Regions from separate parts of the Homo sapiens genome. Here regions 1, 2, 4, 5, 6 and 7 are each linked to region 3. Evidence: promoter capture Hi-C in 16 types of primary human blood cells and fetal thymus (Javierre and others, 2016). All regions are on one chromosome and are shown on one strand. The core of a region is centred on a gene start or on the middle of the fragment in contact, and the rest is flanking DNA. Distances in the headings are between cores, read along the strand shown.

The links. Contacts are between HindIII fragments. The CHiCAGO score rates a contact against its expected background, and 5 or more counts as called.
Region 1: a contact is called between a fragment that was not itself captured here and the fragment with the promoter of HDAC4 in region 3, in 3 of 17 cell types (M0 macrophages, M2 macrophages and neutrophils). The highest score is 6.0, in M0 macrophages.
Region 2: a fragment that was not itself captured here is called in contact with the fragment with the promoter of HDAC4 in region 3 in 1 of 17 cell types (M0 macrophages); the score reaches 6.0 in M0 macrophages.
Region 4: a fragment that was not itself captured here is called in contact with the fragment with the promoter of HDAC4 in region 3 in 2 of 17 cell types (M0 macrophages and M1 macrophages); the score reaches 5.8 in M0 macrophages.
Region 5: a fragment that was not itself captured here is called in contact with the fragment with the promoter of HDAC4 in region 3 in 1 of 17 cell types (non-activated CD4 T cells); the score reaches 6.1 in non-activated CD4 T cells.
Region 6: a fragment that was not itself captured here is called in contact with the fragment with the promoter of HDAC4 in region 3 in 2 of 17 cell types (M1 macrophages and M0 macrophages); the score reaches 6.8 in M1 macrophages.
Region 7: a fragment that was not itself captured here is called in contact with the fragment with the promoter of HDAC4 in region 3 in 3 of 17 cell types (naive CD4 T cells, naive CD8 T cells and total CD8 T cells); the score reaches 6.7 in naive CD4 T cells.

Annotation. Positions count from the first base shown.
Region 1 is chr2:239,727,550-239,731,697 of GRCh38, reverse strand. No RefSeq gene overlaps it. Among named protein-coding and RNA genes, the nearest start is that of LINC02991, 150 kb to the right of the region's middle. The HindIII fragment of the contact is 4,915 bases long and covers 197-4,148 here.
Region 2 is chr2:239,699,422-239,703,398 of GRCh38, reverse strand. No RefSeq gene overlaps it. Among named protein-coding and RNA genes, the nearest start is that of LINC02991, 120 kb to the right of the region's middle. The HindIII fragment of the contact is 2,384 bases long and covers 804-3,187 here.
Region 3 is chr2:239,399,232-239,403,429 of GRCh38, reverse strand. It overlaps HDAC4 (histone deacetylase 4), which reads left to right and starts at 2,410. Exons shown (of 27, transcript NM_001378414.1): 1 at 2,410-2,452. HDAC4-AS1 (HDAC4 antisense RNA 1) reads right to left here and starts at 1,994. Exons shown (of 2, transcript NR_135575.1): 1 at 1,894-1,994; 2 at 1,073-1,355. RefSeq lists an enhancer at 1,202-1,331 and silencers at 1,462-1,731, 2,002-2,121, 2,142-2,581, 2,592-2,761. The HindIII fragment of the contact is 12,493 bases long and covers 1-4,198 here.
Region 4 is chr2:239,814,887-239,818,697 of GRCh38, reverse strand. No RefSeq gene overlaps it. Among named protein-coding and RNA genes, the nearest start is that of MIR4786, 130 kb to the left of the region's middle. RefSeq lists an enhancer at 107-693. The HindIII fragment of the contact is 465 bases long and covers 1,021-1,485 here.
Region 5 is chr2:239,090,479-239,094,381 of GRCh38, reverse strand. All of the region lies in intron 17 of HDAC4 (histone deacetylase 4), which reads left to right. Among named protein-coding and RNA genes, the nearest start is that of MIR4441, 6.5 kb to the right of the region's middle. The HindIII fragment of the contact is 916 bases long and covers 1,797-2,712 here.
Region 6 is chr2:239,682,007-239,685,884 of GRCh38, reverse strand. No RefSeq gene overlaps it. Among named protein-coding and RNA genes, the nearest start is that of LINC02991, 110 kb to the right of the region's middle. The HindIII fragment of the contact is 1,009 bases long and covers 1,337-2,345 here.
Region 7 is chr2:239,073,303-239,077,077 of GRCh38, reverse strand. All of the region lies in intron 22 of HDAC4 (histone deacetylase 4), which reads left to right. Among named protein-coding and RNA genes, the nearest start is that of MIR4440, 6.3 kb to the right of the region's middle. The HindIII fragment of the contact is 6,470 bases long and covers 1-3,775 here.

The DNA.
Region 1 (4,148 bases), core at 1,405-3,904, 330 kb before region 3:
AGCCAGGAGTGCGCTCCCAGTGGCCACCAGGAGCCTGGCCGAGGTCTGAGTGAATGCACCGCACATTGGAATGTAAACAGGCGGGCACCTGGTGATTGGTCTACTTAAACCCAAACAGGACCCCAACGCCCTCCACGACCCACAAGATGCACTCTGGGGCTGAGATGAAGGCCCACACACCCTCCAGGCCCAAGCTTCCCTCTTCTTGTTCCACTGTTCCTCCGTCGTCTCCCTGCTTCCTGGCTTCACCAGCAGATGCTCCCCCAAACCCCATGGTGGGAAAAGCTCAGGAATGAATCAAGGACGAATCCCATGGGACTCTGTGGGAGCCACATCTTGGGTGTCATGATCGCAATGCAAAGCAGGCAGTGTCCAGGGCGGGCAGGACAATGACTGTGGACATCCAGGGGTGGGTGGTGATCCTGTTGGGATGAGGATACAATTAGGAAAGGCAATGAGACCCTTGAGGAAGGGCAGGACTCAGGAAGATAGGACAGGGGCTGGGAGCCTGGCTGCAGAGACCAGCAGAAACAAAGCAGGAGAGGTCACCCAGCCGGGAAGCAGAGAGACCCGCAGAGGCTGGAGCAGGGCCAGGGGGAGCAATGGGGAATCCAGAACCTACCATCGATGAAGCGATAAGACCGTCGGGCAGGACCAGATGTGAGGTAGACAGATGTGGGAGAAAAGAGACATAATTATCAGCATAAGTAAAACGACAATATCTAACTTTTTGAGCACAGATGAAGCCCCAGGTGTGGTGCCGAGGCTTTACACACAATATCTCATGGACCATAGTATTATTCCCCTTGTGCAGACAAAGAAGCCTCCGCACAGAGAGGGCAGGGGAACTCCCCAAGTTCTGTTGCAGTTCTGAACTCCCTAACAGCTGTTGGAGAAGGTGCAGAGCCCCATGAGGAGCACACAGTCGTGGCTGCAGTACCGCACAGAGAGGTCAGGGGAACTCCCCAAGGTCACACAGCGGTTGGAGAAGGTGCAGAGCCCCATGAGGAGCACACAGTCGTGGCTGCAGTACCGCACAGAGAGGTCAAGTTCAGGGGAACTCCCCAAGGTCACACAGCAGTTGGAGAAGGTGCAGAGCCTGTGAGGAGCACACGGTCGTGGCTGCAGTACCGCACAGAGAGGTCAGGGGAACTCCCCAAGGTCACACAGCAGTTGGAGAAGGTGCAGAGCCTGTGAGGAGCACACGGTCGTGGCTGCAGTACCGCACAGAGACGTCAGGGGAACTCCCCAAGGTCACACAGCAGTTGGAGAAGGTGCAGAGCCTGTGAGGAGCACACGGTCGTGGCTGCAGTGCTGCTTCCTCCAGTGGTGGTCACAGCTTTCTTCCCGTGGACGCCTCTGAAGCCCACTGGGTAAACTCACGGCCTCCATTTGATGCTGGGGAAATGGAGAAGCAGGAAGCCCATGTGATGTCCAGGGTAGAGGGCTGAAGGGGCTGGGGCTGGTCTCAGTCTGTTTGGAGAGCCGCAGTCAGGGCTAACCACCCACCTTCTCCATCAGCTTGGGGTCCCATCCACACCAGCAGCCCTCCAAGCCTGCCTCCTGCACCTCGGCTTCCTGCACCACTGGAGGAAGCTCCAGAGTGAGCCCGGCACACCACCCTGTAAATCCAGCCTCGCCCCAGGCCCCCAGATTTCTTTCTACCTCACCCAGGGATCAAGAAAGAGCTTTAATGACACGGTCCCTTCCAACGCCAGCAGCAATGATCCCAGGCAGGGAAGTTCTCATCCCCAAGGACCCCGGGAAGCGGAGTGTCAGCGGGTCAGGGTGGAACCCCTGAGCCAGGGCACCCCAGCTGAGAACCCCTTTCCCTTGCCACCCCGAGGGCTGCCCTGGCCTCTGGCACATGGCTCAGAGCTGACCAGCCTGGCAGGGCCTATGCTCACCTGTGGCAGTGCCTGCCTGAGGCTTTGGGGCTAGGAGTTGGACCCGTCCTCCTCCTCAGGTAGCACCTCCCTGCCCACGGCCTCACCAACCTCTCTGCCAGAAGGCCCTGGGACAGGGTGTGTCTCCAAATACCCACTGGCCTGATCTCCTTCAACCCCACCCCACGAGCAGGACTGTCCCAAAGGGCTGAGCTGCTGTTCAAAGTCACACAGCTCAAAGGTAGGACTGGAAAGGAGGTGGCCCCACCCCGCCTCCCTCTGCCCCACCCGGTGCTCCTCAGGTCCTAGCAGCAGGGGAAGCGCTTGTGAGAGGCCAGGTTTCCCCACGTACGAAGGACCGAAGGTGCCCTGGGATCCCGACAGGCTTCCCCTGGGATTCAGACAGCCCCGCCCTCAGGTTAGACCCCGCAGCCCCCAGGGGACCCTCGGAGCTGGCTGGAGCTTCCCCCACCCACAGCAGGCCCCAGGTCCTGCAGGAGGCTGAGCCCACCCAGAGCTCCAGGGGCCCGACCCACCTGGCCTGGTCTCCCGGCCGCGTTGGCGGTTCTCCGACCTTTTTCTCAACATAAGGGAACGTTCCATGGGCAGGTGTCAGGCAGTTGTCAGGCAGGGCATTAGGAACATTAAGGACCCAAGAGTTTGAAAAACTGATGCTGAGTGTGACAAAATGAAAATCGCAGGAAGGTCTTGATCTGGTGAGAAGGTCTGGGCAGAACTGGTTTCAGCCAGTGAATTCACAAGCTGCTTCACACCTCAGCCCCATGCCCGATGGCACCTGAACGCCAGCCCCAGACTGCCCCTGTGAGATTAGATCAAACCTCTGAGCCTGATCAACCTCCTGGCCCGTGGCTGGGTCTGTGCTGGAGAGGGGAGAAAACTGCCCAGTAATGATCGCGTTTCATGGGTGATGAGAGTCCCATCGTTTCATGGGTGATGAGAGCCACGTCGTTTCATGGGTGATGAGAGCCCCGTCGTTTCATGGGTGATGAGAGTCATGTCGTTTCTGAACGTAACAGACGGAGGTCCGTGCTGAAAGAACACTTTTCAAGACAGGAGCAGAATCATCTTGCTAATGCTTGTGTGATCAGGCAGGCAAGGAAGGAAGGGGCTGCAGGCACTGGCCTGGGGTCAGGAGCACGGCCACTGTCTCCATGAGACGGGACCACACGGCAGCACCTCTGACCTCCACACAGCCACTGGGGCCTTGGGGACTGGCGCTGTCTCACAGTTCTCAGCTGTCTCTCTACATCCTCCGCTCACAGGTCCCCCTCCACACACACGCATGTTCCCCTCCTGCGTAGTAACAGTTCCAGCCGGGAGAGCGCGTGCTGGGGCCGGGGCTCGGCAGAGACAGCCCAGCGCCTCTCGGACAACTGTCCCTGCCTGTGCACAGGGAGCAGGCCCGTGATGGCCGACCTCAGCCCCAGTCATCCTCCTGGGACTCTTTCCACCAGCATTGATGGAGCGCCGCCAGAGCTACGCCGCGAGGAGGAGGAGAGCTGGACTTGCTGGTGCTGAACTCAAAGGCCCAGGGCAGAGTTGGATGCTAAAGCAGTCACTGCCTGTTGGCTCCCTTCTGCGAAGCAGCCAGGAAGACGGGAGGCCCACTGGACACCTGGCTCCTTTGCGTTTGTGCCCAGCTGGGCGTCCTGCAAAGCCAAGGTGCCCCTCCACTCATTGCCCTTGAAAATCACAGGGTGGGGGCATCTCGGGGAGGAGTCTCAAACAGGCAGGCTCTTCAGCCCTTTTAATCCCAGACGCCAGGATGCTCAGGCAGACGTGGAGCTGCAGTGCTGCCCGCAAGGCTGTGGAGTGCTCCTGCTTGCCATTGCTCTGAGTGGCCCTCTGAGGCCAGTGCTGTGAGCCTGTTCCACAGGTGAGCAGCCTGAGGTGGGGAGGGCCTCGGCTGCTCTGAGCCCCAGCTGCCTATTTGTAGAACTGGGTAATGAGAGTGTGGGTTGTCCTAGGGGTCAGATGAATGGACATCTGCGAGGTGCCCGGGAAGCACCAGCGGCCCATCACTGAGGCAGCCACTGAACAACAAGAAAGGGCAGGTGCAAGGAGCCCAGGGGTGAGGGTGTGGGTGGAGGTGAGCTCACCCGAGATAAACGGCTGGACCACATACACGCAGGTGCTAGCAGGACCCTGTCACCTGGTGACCCACATGGCAGACAGGACTCTGCCGCTCTGGCCCGGCTGCACTCTCTCCTCACTCACCCGACACCCACCTGATGCTGCACC
Region 2 (3,977 bases), core at 746-3,245, 300 kb before region 3:
CAGGAAGAGTTCTCCAAATATGTGAGGCCTGATATAAGATAGGGATAGCATTGCAGGTCAGTGGGGAAATAATTGAATAAATGATGCTGAGAAGTTTGCTATCCATGTGGAAAAGAAAAATAAAATTACATCTCTGCTTGCATAATCCCCAAAGATAAAATGTGGCTGGATTAAACATAACTGTGGAAAGTACATTTTTAAAACTGTTATTCAAAAAAATAAATATTTTGTGACCACAGAGTAGGGAAAGATTTATTAAGGAAGTACTAACACAACAGAGGTTCAACACAAAGGACAAAAATGATAAATGTGATTGTATCTATAGTTCAGATTGTACACGAAAGGACATCACAACAAATTTACTAAAACACCACCACATGGAAGATGTCTGTGTCACGCAAAATGGCTGAAGGGTTAAAATCTAACATATGTCAAGAATTCCTACAAAAAGTACAAAATAATAAACAACAGAAAAAATTTTCAAGGATTCAGAAGGGCAATTTATGGAGGGAAAATTTCCAATGGTAAATAAACTTGAAAATATGATCAATCTCACTAAAGGTCAGATAAATCCATATTAAACTACACTAAAACTCCAAAACTGCCCACAAAAAGCAACAGAAATTTAAGTCTCATCACTTAAGTGCTGCAGAGGATGTAGAGAAAACAAAACTTTTATATACTGCTGGTGGGAATATAGATTGACGTAATTACTTTGTATAACAAATTGCCAGTGTCTAGTAAATTTGAAGATGCCTCTACCTGGTGAGGAACAATTTGCTCCTGGGCATATGTTAGAAGCTTAGAGAAACATTAAGTGCACAGGAAGAATTTTATAAAACTATTCCTAGCAATATTACATTTTGTTGAGGAATACATGCATTCATAATGAAAGTGGTTAGAAACTCAGGGTGAGGATAAACACCCAAGTCAGGATGGTGATCCTCTCTTGGCAGGGGGTGTGAAGTGGAATAGGACCAGGAGCGGTACATGGGTGGCTGCAGACATGGATTCCACATTTTATTTCCCAGGCTGCTTGTTGGGCTCATGCATGCACATGAAAGAAAGGTGGAACCTCCCTTATCAAAAATGCTTGGGATGAGAAATGTTTCGGGTTTTGGTTTTTTAAGAATTTGAAATTTTTCTTTTACATAATGAGATAGCTTGGAGATGAGACTGAAGTCTAAACACAAAATTTATTTATGCTTTATAGACACCTTATACAGATAGTTGGAAGGTAATTTTGTCCAATATGTTTAATAATTTCGTGTATGAAACAAAGTTCGTGTTCAGTGCTTGTGCGTAGAATTTTCTAATTGTGGTGTCATGTCAGTGCTCAAAAAGTTTCAAATTGGCTGGGCGCGGTGGCTCACGCCTGTAATCCCAGCACTTTGGGAGGCTGAGGTGGGCGGATCACGAGGTCAGGAGATCGAGACCATCCTGGCTAACACAGTGAAAACCTGACTCTACTAAAAATACCAAAAATTAGCCGGGCGTGGTGGCAGGCGCCTGTAGTCCCAGTTACTCAGGAGGCTGAGGCAGGAGAATGGCGTGAACCCAGGAGGCAGAGGTTGCAATGAGCCAAAATTGCACCGCTGCACTCCAGCCTGGGCAACAGAGCGAGACTCCATCTCAAAAAAAAAAAAAAAAAGTTTCAAATTTTGGAGCATTTCAGATTTTAGATTTTGAGATGAGGGATGTTAAATATATATTCATTTTTTATTTTTAGATGTCCAAAAAGTTGCGTAAATTATAGTTAATTTCAGATGCTTTGGAAACTTAGTTCAGTTAAATACATAAATCATAAAACTGCAGTTAATGTGAAAAATCACCAATGTTTAACTTCTATCATTTGATGCAAAATATTCGTCAGTAAACTTACTTTAAATTGTATTGTGTTAAAAAAATTAGATGATAAAAAGGAAAAAGGAAATAAAGACATGAGACTGATTCTATGATGTTTTGGCTAAATCAATATTTTTCAAACTGTGGTCAGGCCCCTGGGGGTCCCTGAAACTTTCTCAGAAGTCTCTGAGGTCGAAACTCTTTTCATAATGCTAGGAGGCCACTGTTTTCTTCACTATATTGACGTTCGCATTAATGGTACCAAACAGCCTCAGTGCTGGGCCTGGAACCAAAGCCGGAGCCACACCACACAGCAGTCACTGCATGCGTCACTGCCAGGCACTCACGGGGAGGGACAAAGAACATAACCTCCGTGTTACTTAAGAATGTTCTGGGTGAAGGAGAAAAATTATTTATGTTATTAAAGCTCAATGCTTGAGGCACATGCCATTTTAATATTCTAACTAAATAGAAAGTACACACAAAGCCCGTCTGCAAGCTGAAGAACAATGGTTCTCTTGAGAAAAAGCGCCATGTGACTGAACTAAGAGCTCCACTACCCACTTTTTTCATGGAATAATGTTTTTACTTGAAAGAATGACTTACAAACTATTCAGAGTTCAGTCTTTGGCAGATTTCTTGAAAGCAAATGAAGTGAACCAGCCTTTTCAAAGAAAACCATTGACAGTATTTGTTGCCAATGCTAAAATGTGAACTGGAGTGTAAATTAAAATTTTGGAAAGCATGTATTCACCACCAACGTCTTCATAGCTTCCCATTACTTAAAGACTTCCCTGGTGAGATGGGTGGTGATATTAGCAAATATGATTTTTTTGGATACTGAATAATGAAACGTGTCTACATTTGAAAACACTGTATAACTCAGTGAGTCATTATTTTCCAAATGACCAAGATAGGATGTTATAAAATCATGCAAAGTAAAAGATCCATTCAAAGTTAATGATAGGGCTATGCATTTTAATGTAACAGAGATGAAAGCGTTCATTAACAGGATTCAGACTCTACATTGTAACAAATCTTCAAGAAACTACCAATTTTTGTGTATAGCATAAGGGTCCAATTTTATTATTTTGCATGTGCATATCCAGTTTTCCCAAGAGAATATTCTTTCCCTATATGTATTTTTGGCACTCTTGTAGATCAGTCAACCATATACTGTGGATTTATTTCTGGGCTTTTGGACCAGAAACTATAAATCTTCTAGAAAAAAACATATAGGAAAGGCTTTCTGGCATTAGTCTTGGAAATGATTTCATGAATATACCAAAAGCACAGGCAACAAAAGCAAAAGTAGACAAATGGAACGTCAAATGTAAAAGCTTCTGCACAGCTAACAAGCAACAGATGAAAAGGCAACCTACAGAATGGGAGGAAATATTTCCAAACCATAGATCTGATAAAAGGTGAATTTCCAAAATATGTGTGAAACTCCTACAACTCAATATCAAAAACACCAACAACTCAATTAAAAAATAGGCACAGAGCTTGAACAGACATTTCTCTGAAGAAGATACACAAATGGCCAAGAGGTATGAAGAGGCTCAATGTCACTAATCATCAGGGAAACGCAAATCAAAACCAACCTCCTACCTGTGAGAACAGCTGCTAAAAAAGAAAAAAAAAAGACGCGCATCGGTGAGGCTGTGGAGCAACCAGAAACCTCATATACTGTTGTTGTTCAGAACGCAAAATGGTACAGCCATTGTGGAACACAGTGTGGAGTTTCCATCGGTGAGGCTGTGGAGCAACCAGAAACCTCGTATACTGTTGCTGTTCAGAACGCAAAATGGTACAGCCATTGTGGAACACAGTGTGGAGTTTCCTCAAAAATTAAAAATAGGGCCTGGTGTGATGGCTCATGTCTATAATCCCAGCACTTTGGGAGGCCGAGGTGGGTGGATCACCTGAGGTCAGGGGACCAGCCTGGCCAACACGGTGGAACCCCGTCTTTACTAAAAGTACAAAAATTAGCTGGGCATGGTGGCACATGCCTGCAATCCCAGCTACTTGGAAGGCTGAGGGGGAAGAACCGTTTGAACCTGGGAGGTGGAGGTTGCAATGAGCTGAGATCGCGCCACTGTACTCCAGCCTGAGCGACAGAGTGAGATCCA
Region 3 (4,198 bases), core at 1,161-3,660:
TAAAATGTTTTTGCTAATTGAGAATGTTTCATATTTTCTAACACATATGTAAGTGCTTAGCACAAAGCTCACCACATACTGAATATGCAACAATTATTTAATTACCGATTGAATGTTGTCAGTTATCTGAAAGTTACTGTTATTTGTATATTTTATAATTGGCCAGCTTGCCGATCGTAGCCAGTCTAGGAGTTCTACCAATTTATTGGATCCACCAACCCTAGATTTTAAAATTTGAGTCTTTGATGCTGGTTTCTTTCAACTGTGAGAACACGGAGATTCCTTTGAGTGTGATTCATTTGACTCTGTCAAATACCTGTATGTGAAGTCCCAAGCGCGAATGCTCCCAGGCATTGGGGTTGTCACCCCACCTTTCTCCTTATACACAGCTCACAGGATAGCGTGTTTGCTTTCACTGCACACTATCGTACTGAATTGCTCTGCACTGGCTGTGCACCGGTCTCCTTCAGACAGCCCCTCTGACACATAATGGCAGACACAGCCACCCAGGCCAAGTTTCTCTTTTCCAGACATGGCGAGTGAGGTTCTTGCACCATCCACCCAACGTCTGCGTGGTGCCTCACTCTGCTGGAGTGCCTCTCAGGACTCCTGTGAGGACTAAATGGCACGCAGCAATGGGGCTACCCATTCCTTCTAATGGAAATCTACTTTTTAAAAATTACCTCTGCAAGCATTAGATCCCAGAGCTCGTTTCACGTGACTTTTTGCGCAGGCACTTCTCTTTGTACGTGAAAAACTAACTTTGGTAGACTTACAGGCAGGTTTTAATATTTTCTCGTGATTGTATGTTTTTGAGAATCCTGTCAAATGATACTGAATCTTATCTAGATGTTAGCTAGCTACAGACCCTGTTTCATTCTACATGAAAATTAGATAGTGCACCGTTTCCATCAGCAGCCAAGTCTCCAAAACCCCGTAATTGCTCTCCTTTTCTTCAGCTGTATCTTGTTTTAAAGTTCTCTAATTCACCATTCCTTTCCTTCTAAGTTTAGCCTAAGCATTTCTTGCAATGACCAAAGTTTTCTAATTATTAATGAGATATTTAAGGAAATGTAAAATTGGCATTTTTATTTTGCTAACTGTATTTTTATCCACATAACTAGTTTCCCCCACCAAGAATCACAGGTCGAGAATGCTGTAAAAACGGATCCTTTCTCAGCTCCTAAAAGGAATGGCCTACAATCGAAGCGAACGCGCATCTCCGCCAGGTCCGCAACCACAGGCCCACGCCGTCGGGCCCCACGAACCGGCGCGCGCTGTCAAAGGCGCTTCCTCCCTGGAACGCGGGATTCCGGGGACAGTGTGTGCACTCAAGTTGAAAAGTTGTCATACTCCTGTTGGAAAGAAACGGAAACATCACCACCAGGAGGGTGGCCACTGAAGACCCTCGCCGACACCTGCTGGCAACCAAAGGCGCTTCCGGGGATCTACGGGCCGACCTGTAACTCAACACAAGCCTCCCAAGCCCTGCGGCCTTAAAACAACGCCCACCCGGGCGGTGCGCCGTTCCCGCCACCTCCACGCCTGCCTGGACCCGGACTCGAGACCCTGGCGGCGGGCCGGGCTCCCTCCGCCTGAGCAGGGACGCGGCGAGCGCATCCCACGACCCTCGGCAGCCGTTGCAGGCCTGGCGGACCTACACCCCACACCCTCACGGCCGCGTTCCCGCCGCGGGGCAGGGCGAGGCCCACGGCGCCTGCGCACTCAGTGACCGGGCCGCCCTGCGCCTCCGTGCGCACGCAGCACCACGTGACCCACTGCCAGTATCCAAGATGGACGCCGCGGCGAGGCCTGGCCGGCTCCCCGCGTTAGCCTGCACCCCATTGTGTGCCCTCTAAGCGCGAATTAGGCTCGCAGACATGCGGTGCTGACCGCTAGGCAGCCATGCGGGCTACCGAGTGCGACCGGACACGGCCGGGGCCCGTGTTTACGGCCACTACTGGCCCCCGGTCCCTGCGCCTCCTCAACCGCGAAGCACCCAGCGGCTGGCGCCTGGAGCGTCTTTTGGTACGCCCCACCCTCTAGAATTGGCAGCTCCAGCAGCCAATGAGGTCCAGGACGCGTGCGGGGAGGCGGGCAGGGGTGGAGCCTCTCTGCCGCTCATAGGGCATCCGGCCCCGCGGTTGAGCAGCCGCTGGGCGAGGGGTGGGAGCAGACGGGCTGTGCGCAGGTTTCAGCGGGCCAATGGAAGGCCGGCCAGGCGCCCGGGGCGGGCGGGCGGGAGGCGGGGCCGAGCCGTAATTGACGAGCTCTTCATTAGAAACCAGGCGGGAGGGCGGGGCCCGCAAGGGGAGGTGACGCAAGGCTGCCGCAGCCAATGGTTGGCGAGCCGCCGGCTGGCTGGGCGGGGCCGGGCCGGCTGACGGGCGTGCGGGGTGGCCTATCGCCGCCTGGCTCGACGCTGGAGTGGGGAGAAGCATCATGGTTCAACGTGGGTCAATTTTTTGTGAATGAGGAGGGGAGGTTGTGGGGCCGCCGCCGCGGAGCACCGTCCCCGCCGCCGCCCGAGCCCGAGCCCGAGCCCGCGCACCCGCCCGCGCCGCCGCCGCCGCCGCCCGAACAGCCTCCCAGCCTGGGCCCCCGGCGGCGCCGTGGCCGCGTCCCGGCTGTCGCCGCCCGAGCCCGAGCCCGCGCGCCGGCGGGTGGCGGCGCAGGCTGAGGAGATGCGGCGCGGAGCGCCGGAGCAGGGCTAGAGCCGGCCGCCGCCGCCCGCCGCGGTAAGCGCAGCCCCGGCCCGGCGCCCGCGGGCCATTGTCCGCCGCCCGCCCCGCGCCCCGCGCAGCCTGCAGGCCTTGGAGCCCGCGGCAGGTGGACGCCGCCGGTCCACACCCGCCCCGCGCGCGGCCGTGGGAGGCGGGGGCCAGCGCTGGCCGCGCGCCGTGGGACCCGCCGGTCCCCAGGGCCGCCCGGCCCCTTCTGGACCTTTCCACCCGCGCCGCGAGGCGGCTTCGCCCGCCGGGGCGGGGGCGCGGGGGTGGGCACGGCAGGCAGCGGCGCCGTCTCCCGGTGCGGGGCCCGCGCCCCCCGAGCAGGTGGGCTCCGGGCCGCCGGGAGTGAGGGCGGGGGCGGGCGGGCGCCGGGGCCGGCCGGGCGCCGTTTATGTAACTTTGTCAAATGCTGTGAGTTTGCAGAAAAACGTCCCTGCCGGGGGTCCGCGGCCCCGCGCTTGTCGTCGCCGCTGCGAGCGCCCGGGGGGTCGCGGGAGGGCGGGGGGCTGCCCGGGACCCGCTCGGCTCAGCCCGCAGGGCGCCAGCAGGCCGAGACGGGGCCCGGTCCCGCTCGGGGGTGGGATCCGCGTTTGCCGGCGTTGCGAAAACACACCACGGAATCATAAGCAAATTATCTCGTATTTACATTGAGCGTTGAATTATTTGACACTGTTATAGGAGGAGACCGTGCGTATCAGTTGGAAAGGCCGGGGGTGGAACCCAGTGTACTCATTTAATGCACATCAAAAATTTGTAATAACTTGAGGCAGCTGATATGAGTGTTTTCTTTATTGCATGTTGTAAATTGACCTGCTGTGACACAGTTTTCAAATAAAGCGTTGCAGAAATTAAACTTAAGTTATTTTAAAACTAATGACTTTCTTCACTAAATCCTAATTGCATGACTGTAGAGACCTACCTAATTGCTTGCTGAGAGCAGTTCTGCTTGCTCTCCGTGAGGGAGGAAAGGGCCTGTGCAGTCACTTTGCCGCCCCGTTTTTCTCTGTTCAGGCTTTTCTGTTTATTCCCACAAATCACCGAAGCAGTTAAGGCCTGGGAGTAAGCCTGTAAACAGTCCTGGCCCAGCGCCAGCCCAGCAGGACTGGGGGGATACTGGCAGGTTTGCACCTTGACCTGGTTTCACTTTTTCTTTTGTAATATGATCGTGGTTGCCTGGAGTTTTAATTGCTTCTGATAATTCTGTGCATTATTTTCGGGACTGTCCAAAGAAGGCTGGTGTGGTGGTTTCAGGACCTAGCCAGGAAAGGTGGTGGTGGTGGCTGGGGAGAGGGAGGGTGGAAGGGAGGGAGATCGAATTAAGAAAACTCAGCTGCTTGTACACAAATATACACTACAGCAGTTACAAAGCAACAAAAGTTATTGCAGAATTTTGCAGTAACTATGGCAACACAATTACTCTATTATAATTGGAAATGCAAAATGCCACCGAGTTAGAAGTTTCATCAGAA
Region 4 (3,811 bases), core at 4-2,503, 420 kb before region 3:
AAGCTGTAGGAGGGAGGCCAAGACCCAACAGTGGGCAGCAGATGCCGGGTGGGTAGAGAAAGGCCCTGGATACAGGAGGCAGAGGCCGGTGCTTGGTCTGAGGCGGGACAGGACGGGAAGGGAAGAGAAGGAGCTTTCACCCCTTAGGCAGGTTCCATGTTTTCATGTTCGCTGCAGCAGGCCAGAGCACCCCTGAGCGGACAGGGCTGGGGCCTCGGGCTAGGAGGGGCCAGCAAGGCTGGACATCATGCTTTTGCTTTGGTGCCATTTATGTGACTTTTTCATTAGCTTCATTTAGCCAACCAGGAGTAAAAGAGAAATCAGATGGCCAGATGCTCTCTGGGCTGGGTCCTGGCAGGAGGGATGTGATGAGAGGTCAAGGGCCCGAGGGATTTAGGGTTCAGGTCAGTGTGCTGGTGAATGATAGATGAGGTCCAGGTCAGCGTGCCAGTCAATGATCAGATGGGGCCCAGGTTAGCGTGCTGGCCAATGATCAGATGGGGCTCAGGTCAGCATGCCAGACAGTCATCAGATGGGGCCCAGATCAGCATGCCAGACAGTGATCAGATGGGGCTCAGGTCAGCATGCCGGACAGTGATCAGATGGGGCTCAGGTCAGCATGCCGGACAGTGATCAGATGGGGCTCAGGTCAGCATGCCGGACAGTGATCAGATGGGGCCCAGGTCAGCATGCCGGACAGTGATCAGATGGGGCTCAGGTCAGCATGCCAGACAGTGATCAGATGGGGCTCAGGTCAGCATGCCGGACAGTGATCAGATGGGGCCCAGGTCAGCATGCCGGACAGTGATCAGATGGGGCCCAGGTCAGCATGCCGGACAGTGATCAGATGGGGCTCAGGTCAGCATGCCGGACAGTGATCAGATGGGGCCCAGGTCAGCATGCCAGACAGTGATCAGATGGGGCTCAGGTCAGCATGCCGGTGAATGATCAGATGAGGTCCAGGCTAATAGCCAGGGCTGGGATCCCAGGAGGGCAGGGACAGAACCGTGGGCAGAAGCTTGGAGTTTCCCTTAAGAGGGACCTGGGCTGGTTGGCATCTAGTACAGTGGTCAGGATGAGGAAACACCCCACTCAAGGGTTTAGAACAGGAAATGCAGCATAGTACCTACCTAGTGATGAGAAAAATACCACAAAGGGGAAGAAAAAGACCAGGACAAGCCTATGAAGCTCTCTGATCCTGAGTCCATCAGCTCAGCCACCTCGGGCACCAGCTGGTGGTGACCAGCCACGGGGGCTTAGATGTCCCTGGGATGACGAGTCCCACATGGCCTGGACCCCATGCTGGCGATGTGGATGGCAGACACCCCTGAGTGCACTGACTCCACTTCTCACCAGCCAGATCTGGGGCTTGCTGTGAGACAGCTCTGGAGATCCAAGGCCCCCTTGGGCCTCTCCACTCCCCAGGACAGGGCTGACCCTTCTCAATGTCTGGCCTCACCCACCTCTTTACCTAGCATAAAAGCTTAAGCCAGTCACCAATCGCATCATATCCACATTAGTGGGACGGCAGGGCTCCTGAACACACGGCTTTAGTAGATTAGATATCCTCGTTGGTCAGTGGTGCTGGTCACCAAGGGACCTTCAGAAACCGGGGAGAAGCCATGGGAGTGCAGAGAGCCCGTGTGTGGTCCTGGCATCAGTGGGCACAGAGGCAGGCCCTGGGAAAGTTGCCTGGACTCCTGCGGAAGGTTCTGATCGTGCCCGTTCTCATGTCCCTGAAGCCGGCCCTCTTGGTGTCTTCAGTTCAATGTGACAAGTTGTTTAATGTGGCAAATGGAGGCCTTATCACCTCTAAGGGATGTTGGGTGCAGCATCTCTGTCTGCTTATCATCTGTCACATTGCTGCTAGGATATGCAATCTCTCTCTGTGGGGGTAGCCCGAGTTTTGCTGCTAATATTAATGGTGCATGACATGTGTGCATCTCCATTTCATCATGAAGCACTTCCTCAGAGGTGGTCTCGGTAGTCCTCCCAGGCCTCAGGCAAGACAAGTCTCATGCACTAGGTGCCTCGAGAATGCAAACATGCACATGTCTCAGTCCCCCCACAAGAATGTAAACATGCACACGTCCCAGTTCTCTCTCAAGAATGCAAACATAAATGCATCCCAGTCCTCCCTCGAGAATGCAAACATGCACGCGTCCCAGTTCCTCCCTCGAGAATGCAAACATGCACGCGTCCCAGTTCCTCCCTCGAGAATGCAAACATGCACGCGTCCCAGTTCCTCCCTCGAGAATGCAAACATGCACGCGTCCCAGTTCCTCCCTCGAGAATGCAAACATGCACGCGTCCCAGTTCCTCCCTCGAGAATGCAAACATGCACGCGTCCCAGTTCCTCCCTCGAGAATGCAAACATGCATGCGTCCCAGTTCCTCCCTCAAAAATGCAAACATGCACATGTCCCAGTTCCTCCCTCGAGAATGTAAACATGCATGCGTCCCAGTTCTCTCTCAAGAATGCAAACATAAATGCATCCCAGTCCCCCCTCGAGAATGTAAACATGCACGTGTCCCAGTTCCCCCTCGAGAATGCAAACATGCACGCATCCCAGTTCCTCCCTCGAGAATGTAAACATGCACACGTCCCAGTTCCCTCTCGAGAATGTAAACATGCATGTCCCAGTCCCCCCTCGAGAATGTAAACATGCACACGTCCCAGTTCCCTCTCGAGAATGTAAACATGCACGCATCCCAGTTCCCCCTCGAGAATGTAAACATGCATGTCCCAGTCCCCCCTCGAGAATGCAAACATGCACATGTCCCAGTCCCCCCTCGAGAATGTAAACATGCACGCGTCCAGTCCTCCCTCTGTGTGCTCCCTGCGCCCTCTCTGGTTGTTATTGTGTGATCCAGATCAGGGGTTGGCAGAGGATCACCTGGGGCTGAATCTGGCTGACTTTTTAAAATAAAGTTTTATTGGCACACAGTCCTCCCACCATTTGTATGTTGTCTGTGACTGCTTTCCCACTGCCCTGGAATCAGTGAGGTGAGTTGTCCCACCGACGCTGTGTTGCCCAGAAAGCCTAAAGTGTTTCCTGTCTGCCTCTTCACAGAAAATAAATGTCTCCCCTGATCCAGATAATGGAAAGGAAGAAGTTGTTTTGATTTGGGAGCGCAGCCCCCAATTGGCACCCCTCTGGGGAGTAGTAAATACTCAGCTCTTTGGATGTTGCCATGGTGGGGGTTGTCTGTCTGTGTTGTAAGGAAAGGCAGTGTTCAGACAGCACAAAACCAACCATTAGCACACGACTGTATTACAGTGCAAGGTTTGCCTCACACCATTCCAGAGCTGTTATTTTCTGGAGGGCCATGAGGCACTCCAGATGTATGTGGATTCTATTGTCTTCCTGATTTTATAGATGACAAAGCTGAGATTCAGAAAGGTGGTGGTGTTTGCTCATGGTAGCTTCCAGTCTAAGACTTGATTTAAAGCCAAGACTGTTGGCCACAACCAGCACCTCCCATGCCAGGAGGGAGGCCAGCTGCAGTGGACACGACTGTGCAGCGGACACGCTTGTGTAGCGGACACACCTGAGCCCACCACGCACCTGAGCTGACCCCTGACAGGGCTCCTTGAAAGCCTTCTGCCTGCCAGGCTGAGCCGCAGCCCGTGCCTGTGATTCTGCCTCCCGCGAGCCTGTGTGTGCATGGATGACGGCATTGGGTCCACGTCACGGAGCCGCAGGCAGACATGCGGGCTTCATGCACTTGTGGCCTCAGCTTGTGTGTGTGGAGATGTGCGCCTGATCGTGCTCTCGTGCTGAATTTTAAATTAGTTTAAAAAGATTGTT
Region 5 (3,903 bases), core at 1,005-3,504, 310 kb after region 3:
AAGTTCACAAGGACTTTCCAGTCTGGGCATCTGCCCATCCGTCCACACAGGAAGGGTCAGGTCTTGCAATCAAACTTCTCAATAACAAAAGAGTTCTCCCCTGGCCCCTGACCTCCTTGATGCAGCCTGGGCAGGGGTGGCAATAGCGAGGGCGGCCATGAGAAGCTGAGGCGGAGCGTCCGAGCAGATCCGGGCCATCATGGTCCTGCAGTGCCGCGAATCACCACAGACGGTTACAGGCAGGGAGGACGGGAGCCGGTGGACAGCAGGAGCCGCTGCAGCCGAAACGGTGCAGTGTGTGTGTAATCACTGATCGCAGGGTGAAGCTCAAGGTCTGGATTCTGTTATGGAAATGAAACAAAATTGTTTTCTTCCTGAGTTTTTATAAAAATCACTGCTTTGAAAATTATCCCGTCAGAAAGAGAATAAACGGCATTTATTCATACCACCACCAAGCCCTCCTAGAGTTATTTTATTTTGTATTGTAAATAGGCTGCAATCTCTTAATTTGGGGCATGTTTTTGGCCAGACTTGAAAAGGATTGAATTTGCACTGCCCTGCAGCCAGCACGCCTGTGCAAGGCAGAATTTATCATTTGCAAATGAAAGCTAAGTGCAGACTCAGAGCTGAGGGGGTGAGCCCAGCAGCCCCTCCCAAGTGTTAAATCCAGATCTGAGGCACAGCAGATGAGAGCTGCACCCTCACGTCTGGGTGTGCAGATGCTGATGGAAAAGCTCCCCACGTGGACGCGGGCAGAGAGGGTAGCCTGTTGGCATGGGCAGGGAACAGTGCAGGCCGTGGGGCTTCCTGAGGTACAGCCACCGGCAGGATGTGTTTTCTTCCCATTGTTTTCCAAAAGGAAGAAGACAGACAGGAGGCCGGTGCAGACCCCTGCCCTGGTGTGGGATGCACCTGCTGTCGCTGGCACAGATGCAGCTCTCCTGAGCCTCATGTCTCCTCCAGAGCCAGGAGGGGCCAGCCTCCTGGGGTGTCAGGAGGAGCAAAGTAGACCTCGGGAGCCGAAGTGTGGGCACACAGCAGGTGCTCTTGTCAGGGAGGGCAGAGCAGGTGAGCAGAGCCAGCCACCTTCCCCGAAAGCAGCTGCAAACTCTCCCGGAGGCAGAACAGTGGGGCTTGGAACACGGAAAACTCACCACTCCTCGGCGCTGGGAAATGGGAGCTGTAAAGTGCTTTGACCTCTTTTTCAAACCAGATCAGCTCCTGCGTTGCTCCTCTCCAGTGACCGCAAGTTTCAACTGGGTGAGGAGCTGGTGTCCCTGCTCGGCCTCGCCCAGCGGAGTCCTGGCCTGCTCTCGTACGCCCGGCTCCCCGCGGCTCCTCTGAGCTTCCCAAAGGCCTCCCAGCCCTGCCAGCCCTCGGCATGTCCCTTTTAGACTCCATGGGATTATCCGTGGGAAGCTTTCTCCATGTTTCCCCCCGCCTTTTTCCTGTCTTTATTGCGAAAGAGAGAGAAAAGGAGAGGAGAGAAGCGAGAGAGAGAGAAAGAAAGGAAAAGAAAACAAAAAAAAAAAGAAACGAAACACAGAGTGAGCCATTTGCTCCTTCCTGCATTAGCAGTTGCGGCCGCCTGCCCTGAGCCAGGCTATTGCTCAGTGGTGGCGCTGCACGCCTGAGCCAGGCTCCCTGCAAGAGGCCTGGAGCTCCAGGCTGGTCCCTGGGAGCTGGAGCCGTGGTCCTGAAGCAGGCGAAGGAGGGTCTCTTGAGTTCTCTGGGGACTGGGGTCCTGCAGTTTGGCTGGGGCTTTGTCCTTCACTCTGTGCAAGACTCCAGAAGCTTCTGAACCCCAGGGTCCCATGGGAGGGGGCACAGACACAGGCACCTGGTAGACCGAGCAGCTCCTTGGCACCCCAGGTGTGCAGAATCCCCAGAAGACCCTTCAGAACACGGGTGTAGTACACCCTCCGCTCCCTGCAGTGTTGGCCTAATCCCAAAGCCTAGTTCATTGTATGTTGGAGAGAAACCATCTCTGGGTGCTGTCCCCACAGGGGCAGCCTCGGGGCCTGGCCTGTCTGGGACCCCGCCTCTGCTGGCTGACACAGAGCAGGTGGCAGAATCTTGCCCTGCCCAGCTCTCACTCCTGCGATGTCACCTTGGATTTTTTTTTTTTTTTTTTTCCTCTTTGGAGACAGAGCTTCAGTCTGTTACCCAGACTGGAGTGCAGCGGTGCATTCATGGCTAACTGCAGCCTCGACCTCCTGGGCTCAAGTGATCTTCCCGCCTCAGCGTCCTGAGTTGTGGGGACTACAGGCCCAGGCCACCACATCTGGCTAATTTTTGTTTGTTTGTTTTTGAGACGGAGTCTGGCTCTGTCGCCCAGGCTGGAGTGCAGTGGCGCGATCTCGGCTCACTGCAAGCTCCGCCTCCCGGGTTCACGCCATTCTCCTGCCCTAGCCTCCCGTGTAGCTGGGACTACAGGCGCCCACCACGGCACCTGGCTAATTTTTTTTTTTTTTTTTGTATTTTTAGTAGAGACGGGGTTTCACCGTGTTAGCCAGGATGGTCTCGATCTCCTGACCTTGTGATCCGCCCACCTCAGCCTCCCAAAGTGCTGGGATTACAGGCATGAGCCACTGCGCCCGGCCCACATCTGGCTAATTTTTTGAAAAGAAAACCATCACCGAATACACTTCAGGAAATGTCTTCAGCCCCTTGAAAATGCATTTTAACTCACCTTGCTTTGATGATGAAGCTTCAAGACCGCCTGGAAAGAAATCCTCCCTCCCCACATAATGAGCGGTGTCTATCAAGTGGCAAGTCTGCCTGGTGGTGGACAGGAGCCCTCGAGGGCCTGGTCTGGGGAAGGGAGAGGCAGGGTGGACACGCCTGGCTCCTGCTTAGGAGCCCCAAAGCACTCGGCGCTCAGAGGGGCTCAGTTTGAGAAGGAGGCGTCCTGCAATGGACCTGCAATCGCCCTGGTCAGCACCGTGTGGAAGCTGAGCAACCTATGACACGGCTTCTAAGACCTCCACCGGGCTGGGCACCCCCAAGTCCCCGGTGTGTTACCCCACAGCAGCTTGCAGGCAAGGGACACACTTGGGGACAGATGCTCAGGTTCCCTGGGGCCAGCCCAAGGGCTGTGTATTTCATCTTAACACCTCCCTCCCCTGGCCAGACTCCCATAGGAGACTGCTCTGTGCAGAACTGGCTGTCCAGGTCTCTGTCTGTCGACTTTCCTCCTGAATTGAGCCAGGGCTGTAAGAAATTTCTGGTGTGCCTAAATAAATAAATGAGCCAACACACAATCGGGGATTGTTGACGTGTTTGTGTGAAACACGTTTTCTGTCTGAAGTGGAAAAGGCCAGCGGGCTGACTTGCTGGTGTCCAGGCAGAGCCGTGTACCGTCACTAGGGCAGAGCAGGGCAGCTCTCCTCACCCGCCCACACGGCCAGTCCCGCTTAGCTACGCTGGTCAACATGTGGAGCTTCCAGTTAAACTCGGCACAGGAGAAAGTCACTATTGGAAGAGACTGGTCGTGATTCCCCTTACATTTCATTTTGCTGCTAATTATTTGACAGGTCGACTATCCCTTATCCGAAATGCTTGGGGCCAGAAGTATTTCAGAGTTTGGTGTTTTTCAGATTTTGGAATATTTGCATTGTACTTACCAGTTCAGCATCCCTAATCCAAAAATCTGAAATCCAGAATGCTCCAGAGTGCATTTCCTTTGAGCGTCACGTAAGCGCTCAAAAAGTTTCCAGTTTTTTTTTTTTCCTTTTTGGAGACAGAGCCTCACTGTGTTACCCAGACTGGAGTGCAGAGGTGCATTCATGGCTCACTGCGGCCTCGACCTCCTGGGCTCAAGTGATCTTCCCGCCTCAGCCTACAAAATGCTTTTGTAGTATTTCGGATTTCAGATTCTCAGATCAGAGATACTCAAGCTGA
Region 6 (3,878 bases), core at 592-3,091, 280 kb before region 3:
TCCTATAATTCCAGGGTCACCTCCCACCTCCCTGACACCCCACGAGCTCTCCCAGAGCAGGAAACAGACCTCGTTCATCTCCATGGGGCCAGCACCTGCCATGGTGCTTGGAACAGGACTGTTGCTCAATCAATGCCTGTGGAACAGACGGATCCTGAGTCTGTCAGTCTTCTCCATGCCTGGGTGGGTTCTCCTTGCACTACAAAGGAGTGGAGGAGGAAAGTCGTCCACAGAGTTGCAGAGGCACACAGGGGTGAAGTGGGAATGCAGCCTGCGTGTAGGTCGGGTGTGATGCCATCACGGCTTCACTTCTCCCCATGAGGAGGTGAGCCTCAAGCGCTGTCCCTGCCCCCGGCATCCCTGGCTTCTCAGCAGTGCTGTGTCCATGCATTAACAAGGGTCTGTCCTGATGGATCAGTCCAGACGGGTAATTTAACTGAATGCAGAATTCAAGGGGAAAATGTATCTATGAACATTTTCAGTGACATATCTATGTATATATCTCCGTTCAGTGATTATATAAACATGATTATTAAGTTTTCGGCTTCAGGAAAAGCTAAGGCAAAATCAATTCAATTCAGCAGCTCCCACCCCCAGGTGTCCTCGGTACTGCCTTCACTGCTATTTTCCACCATTTCAGTGTCTTCTTTCTAAAGGGTCATGGTTGCAAGCTTTTTCCCATTTTTGAGCCCTGGGGACTCATTTTCTCATAGAATTGGCTGAAATGTGTGGTTTTCCTGGGAAAGGAATCCATGAAAAAGTGAAATAACACTTTTTTTCTTTCAAGACAGGGTCTTGCTCTGTCACCCAGGCTGGGGTGCAGTGGCTTGATCATGGCTCACTGCAACCTCTGCCTCCCTGGCTCAAGCGAGCCTCCTACCTCAGCCTCCTGAGTAGCTGGGACCACACGTGCACCATGCCCAGCTAATTTTTTTATTTTTATTTTTGTAGAGACAGGATTTAGCCATGTGGTCCAAGACAGTCTACAACTCCTGGGCTCAAGTGATCCTCCAGCCTCAGCCTCCCAAAGTGCTGGGATTATAGGTGTGTGCCATCATGCCTGGCCAGAAATAAAGTGAAGAGAAGTAGCAGTTGAGTGAGCCATGCACAGTTTTGTTTTGCAGCTCAGAGCTGCCTATTCCCATTAGGCAAGAAATGGCTCATGGGATTTGAAGACCAGGCCGCCCTGCATCTTCCTTCTGATGGGTGGAATGCAATTCCCACCCATCTTGGGTTTGATGCAATTCCACCAGCAGCATTGACTCATCAAGCTTCCAGGGAAGGCAGGATTAAGTGGAGGTTAATGAGATGTCAAACAACAGTCATTCTGGAAGCTTCCATATGAGCTCTGCTCACCAGCATTATGCTCCAGTTCAGGCAGTCACAGGTGGAGAGTGGACCTGCCTGAGAAGATCCAGAAGGAAGAAAGGTCGGTCGAAAGGAAAGCAGCCAGCCAAGAGCTAGTGGTGAGGACAGTGAAGACTCCTCATGGACTGTGCTTCAAACTAGAGAGAACGACTGGCAAAAAGGTAGATCACAGCATCAGACACTCAGAGAGATACAGATAGTGCCTGCCAGCCAGCGTGTGGTTGTGAAGGGCGAGAATGAATAACTGCCTAACAGTCAGAGCTCCCGTGATTTTTACACTTTCTTCCCATTTGAATGGGCATTAACTAGGTCGGACACAACTCTGAAGCTGGGGAAAGGAGAGGCCTGAAGTGGTTTTCTCAAGGTGATACAGATAGTATGTGGCAGAGTTGGGTTTTCGATGTAATTCAAATGGCGAATTAACATGGGTACTACTGATTTGGGCACTGAAACTCAATCTCAGCAATGCACAAAAACAGAAGGAAGTTAGTGGATCCATTAAAAACAAAAACCCACCTCTTCCCTTAAAACATTGAGAACTCTGGGTACTTGGGCTTCTGGGATGGGGTAGTATAGGGAGGAATTATTGCCTAGAGTAGAAAAAAAGAGACTCCAGAGATAGGATGTGGGGAGAATTTTCCTGGTGTGTCTTTAATCCTTCTTCCAGCACTGGGCAGAAGTTAAAAACTGGTCCATCTACTATCCCTAACCACTGTAAGGGTTTCAGTTTCTAGGGAGTTTAGAGTAAATATCAACAGTTCACTGCTCCGAACACAACTAGAAAAATAAATTGATAAATTATAAAGATTATAGTTGTAAAACCATTGATTAGCAGTGAAAGTAGAAGAACCAAACAAATTAAAATTCCAGAGCAGGAAGAGCCCTTCCCAGCTGAGCTGCAATCACTGACCATTTTGTCCCTGGGGGCGGGGGTGGGAGAGATTTTCTGAATCTGGGAAAAGGCTGAGGTTTAAGCTTTTCCTAGGCAGAGGGGCTCTTTTGAGGGAAAGATAAGTCAGTGGCTATTTTTAAAATAATTTGAGCTGGGCTAAGAGATCAGAATCTAGAGGAGCTCAAAACACTGAGCTGTTTTCTCCTGTAGGTTTATTGCTGGCTTCTGCAGTGGTACAAGAAGGGTGGAGGCACTAGAGAGGGAATGAGATCTCCCACTGCCCCACTTGCCAGGCCCACCGTCTGGCTTCAGTCTTCAGACTTGGAAAACAGGTGCACTGCTTCTCATGTTGTACCCCAGACTCAAATCAGCTCAATCCTGAATTGTGTTGCGGTGATTAGCACCTAATCCCCATCTTCCAAAAAAAGGTGGGTAGGGAGAGGCAGAAATTGTCAGAGAAACAGTAGCAACAACTTTAGTTTCCATCATCTTTGTATACACGACGACTTTCCTGTAATCAGAACTTAGATGAATGTGAACTAGGGAAACATGACTAATGATTGATAAAAAGCTGTCAATAGAAGCAGATCTGTAAATAATCCAGATACAGAAATTAGCACACAAGGACTTAAAATTATCAATTATAAAGGCATCAAAGCCAAGAGGGGAGAGATGCACTAAGCGGCTGAAAAGATGGAGAATTTCCCAAAAAAAAAAAAAGTTTTGGAATCTGTAAAAAGAATCAAATAGACATTCTGAGTAAAAAATAGAATATCTGAAATTGAAAACTCATTAAATAAACTTCATAGCAGATGGGGCACAGTAGATCAGCCAAGCGAACAGAAAGACCAAAGCTCAGAGAGAAAGAAAAGACTAGCAAGAGCAGACATGTAAACGGTGGGCAAGTGGACCAACACACTTCTATCTGGAGTCACAGAAGAAGAAGACAAGGAGAATACACCAGAGTTAATATTTGAGGAGACTATGGCTGAGATTTTCCAAAACTGATGACAGACTTCAATCTACTGATTTAAGAAGCTCAAGGAAGCCCCATTTACCCTGTGTGAGGAGGGAGCAGCCATCCCAGTGGTAGCTGGTTGGGAGGATAAATTAAAGATTCTACTACGCACAAATTGGATGAAGGATAATTCAAAACACATTCATCCAGGCTTTCCAGCCACAGAGTATTCCTTTATCCCTGTACCCCCTTCACAGCTCCAGGATTAGGTAATCATGCTCAGGAGAGAGTTGCTTAAGTGAGACCGGTGCCAAGGGAGAGATGTAATGTGTAATACCAGATGCTCTTCACCAGAGGATGCATCCTCCCTCCATCTCAAAAAATCCTCAGAAGCAGAGAAATTGTCTACATGGGTTTCATCCCCTCCCCTCAAATATCCACTTCCAGCACAGATAGATAATATCTCAGAAGGGTGTATTAGCTCAGTAAAAGTAATGAGACTTCTTAAGAATACAACTGCTATATAGAGAAAGACAACAAGAAGAGAAATTCATACCAGATGAAGCAGAATAAATAGAACAGATGGAACAAGAGTTTAAAATAAGCCTGTTTAATTTCCTCTAAGAAATAAGGCAGGGGGTACTGGGAAGATTTAAAAAA
Region 7 (3,775 bases), core at 484-2,983, 330 kb after region 3:
AGGATCTGGGGGCCAGTGGACAAGCCCAGAAAACAGCGGCAGAGATTGGGACAGGGCCACAGGCTGGTGAGGTGGGGCCATCTCAAAGAGGTTGAAGTGAGATGGGATTGAGGGGAGTAGGGGCTGATTTTGGGGGAGAGGGCACTTGGTGAGGTCTCGAGGTGCTGGCTTAGAGGAGGCTGAAGGGTGCTGGGCAGAGATCCAGCGGGAGAAGGTTCAGGTGGGGGTGGATGAGGGTTCAGTGGGGACGCTTTTGCTTCAGTCTGTTTTCAGGAAAAAGTGAGAAAGTGTCCATCCAAGTGGGTGGTTGGGAGCATCTCCACCTGGAGGCCCCTTAGTAGGGAGAGCCAGTGAGGAGCCAGTTTGTGTGGACGATGCCCCAGGGCATTTATTGGGGCAGAACGGCAGCCAGAAACTCAAGCATGGCGTGCCAGCCCTGAGCCCAGTTCCCACGGAGTCCCCAGAGGCTTGCCGGCTGTGGGTGGCCACAGGACTGCAGCCTCTTGGCCCCATAAGCTCGGTTTGCTCTGAGGCTTGTGTTGACGGAAGGTGTGGTGAGTTTTGTTTAGGGTCCTACTAGGGGAATGAACTGGAAGGTCATTTCTTTCCAGATGTTGAAACCCAGCTGTTAAGTGAATTATTGCATTTAGATGCAGTTGTGGCTTTTGAGGATGGTATGTACAGGCCATAATTTGATGGTATGTGGTGGTTTAGAGCTAGACGTGCCCCGTGACACAGCCCCTTGCGCAGAGCACAGCTGGGAGGCTGCACGAGCGATGGCCTTTCGAGGAAGCAGAGTGGCCGGCACCCTGCCTGCTGTCCCGGTCCAGCTCTGTTCCCCCTGGGAAGCCGAGGGGCGTGGCCAACACCCGCCTGCTGTTCCAACCCAACCCAGCTCTGTTCCCCTGGGAAGCCCAGGAGAGTGGCCCGGCACCCGCCTGCTACTGCTATCCCGGCCCAGCTTTGTTTCCCCGGAAGCTGAGGGGAGTGGCTGGCACCCGCCTGCTACTGCTATCCTGGCCCAGCTTTGTCTCCCAGGAAGCCAAGGAGAGTTCGCTGGCACGCGCCTGCTACTGCTATCCCAGCCCAGCTCTGTTTCCCAGGAAGCTGAGGGGAGTGGCTGGCACCCGCCTGCTGTCCCAACCCAGCTCTGTCTCCCTGGGAAGCCGAGGAAAGTGGCCAGCACCCACCTGCTATCCCGGCCCAGCTTTGTTTCCCGGGAAACCAAGGGGAGTGGCTGGCACCTGTCTGCTGTCCCAGCCCAGCTCTATTCCCTGGGAAGCTGAGGGGAGATGTCGTCTTCAGGCTGCAGGTGCAGGTTGGCTGATGACCGAGTGAAGGGTGCAGTGCTGTGTCGGTAACGAAGGTGCCAGAGAAGCCACATTGAGGCCACGGGAAGGGGATGCGTGGCACCCCACGGCTTCACACGGGACCTCCCTAAATGCAGAGGCCACCGCGAGGAGAAGCCGCTCTCTCCCCTTAGCACCACGTTTCCCTCTGTACGTGCCTCACGGGCACAGGCACCCTCTGGGCACCACAGTCATGGCTTCCCTGGGCTTGCCGGCCCCAGGGGTGCACCTTACAGGCATTTGTCCACCTTCTCTAAAGATCCCCTCTTTCCACCCATTTCTCCTGCCTCTTGAGCTGACGATCAGTGGACGATCAGTGGGCCTACTGCCTTGGGAAACTGCGAGCCCACCCCTCTCTCCCCTCAGGTTGCCCCAAGAAAGGCCAAAAGTGACCTCATGGAAATACTCTCCTTAAAGTGATGGCTTGAGAGGCCCACGGCAAACATCTCAATCTTATTTTTTTAGAGACTGAGTTCTTTTTTTTTTTTTTTTTTTTTTTTTTTTTGAGACGGAGTCTCATTCTGTCGCCCAGGCTGGAGTGCAGTGGCGCGATCTCGGCTCACTGCAAGCTCCTCCTCCCAGGTTCATGCCATTCTCCTGCCTCAGCTTCCTGAGTAGCTGGGACTACAGGCACCCGCCACCACGCCCAGCTAACTTTTTGTATTTTTTAGTAGAGACCGGGTTTCACCGTGTTAGCCAGGATGGTCTCGATCTCCTGACCTCATGATCCGCCTGCCTCGGCCTCCCAAAGTGCTGGGATTACATGTGTGAGCCACCGTGCCCGGCCGAGACTGAGTTCTTTATTAAAAGTTTAATTCTGGGAATAAAATGTGAGTCCAGTTTCCCATTTTTTGCAGCATCTATTAAACAGGGACATTCCTTCAGCTTCCTCTTGTAGGAAAGTCGTGGAGGGTAAGCACAGTCCTGAAGACACAGGGAGTGCCATGCTCAGCTTCCTTTTTACAGGCAAAGAAGTCATGTCCCATGGAGGAGAAGGGACGTTTCTTAGTCGCGCCACAAACGGGTGCTGAAGGTGCACTCATGCACCTCACGTTCTGACCTTCTTATGTCTAGCAGGTGTTTGGGATCACAACCTAGAGGGTGTTGAGCCCAGTAAAATGAAAATGAGTGTGTGGGCACGTGCATCCGACTGTGCCCCACGCAGCCTCACGTGTGGCCGACGTGCCAGTGCCCACGAGCCTGGGCTCATCTTTCCCATTTTGTTTTGACTGGCTTTGAGGCAACACCACACACCAAGCCTAGACAGCAGAGACTCTCTTGGTATGAACTTCATTTAACGGCGATTTTCACAGGACTTCTTTTTGGAGGGGGATTAGAAGTAAAATAGCTCAGCAGCACTTCAAAGTGGGGAAGTAAAGCCTCCACGTGCGCTCGCTGCAAAGCAGCAGTCAGAGTGCCTCGCCAAGGACACAGCGTCCACACAAAACGCCTGTGGTTCTCATTGAAAAAGGTCTTGGCTTTAAAATCCACACCAAAAGCATGGCTGGAAATGTGTTTTTCTGTCCAAAGAAAAAGGTTTTATGACAAGAACTTTATTAAAATAATTAGAAGCGAGTCTCCTTGGGATGATGTGGACAGTTGAAAGCAGAGGGCGGCCCCCTCAGTCCTGCGGCCCCCCTCAGTCCTGTGGCCCCCTCAGTCCTGCTTCCCCACTCAGTCCTGCTGCCCCCCTCAGTCCTGCTGCTCCCCTCAGTCCTGCTGCCCCCCTCAGTCCTGCGGCCCCCTCAGTCCTGCGGCCCCCCTCAGTCCTGCTGCCCATTAGGTTGGTCAGAGCCATGGAGGAAGCCTCGGAATGTCGGTCAGAAAGGACTGTGGGGCCAGTGCCTTCCAGTGTCCAGGGCAGGGCCCTGGGTCCAGCAAGAGTCAAAGGACTCCTGGATTCCAAGGCATTCTCTCCATCCTGCCACTGACTAGACTGATTTCTCCCCTCCCAGCCCTGCGGCGGGAGTGCCGACACCAACTCCACGCACGCTCTGAGGCCAGTGCGGTGTTTCCTGTGTTGTACACCATGTTTGCGAAATCGCCATGCTTTGTGGTGGGGTCCCAGTAGGTGAGAAGAAACCTCTCACTCTGGGACCAGAATCATGCATGGAAGAATGTTACAGAAGTTGTATGGACAGGACCAGAGCAGAGGTTTGGGCAACTCCAGCTGGTGGGCCAAGTCCTGCCGCCTGTGCTCTTGGCACAGTGTTATCAGAGCACAGGGACGCTCGCACGCCGATGCACTGTCTGTCCTGTCTTGGGCACCACAAGGGCAGCATCACGTGGTCCTGGCAGAGACCGTGTGGCCCACAGACTGAGGTCAGGTGCCTCCTATCTGACCCGTGGCAGGAAGCTCGCTGCCCCTGTCTAGATTCACCTTGTTTCCTCAGCCCCTAACGATGGCCCTCGGGGCACAGCTCCTG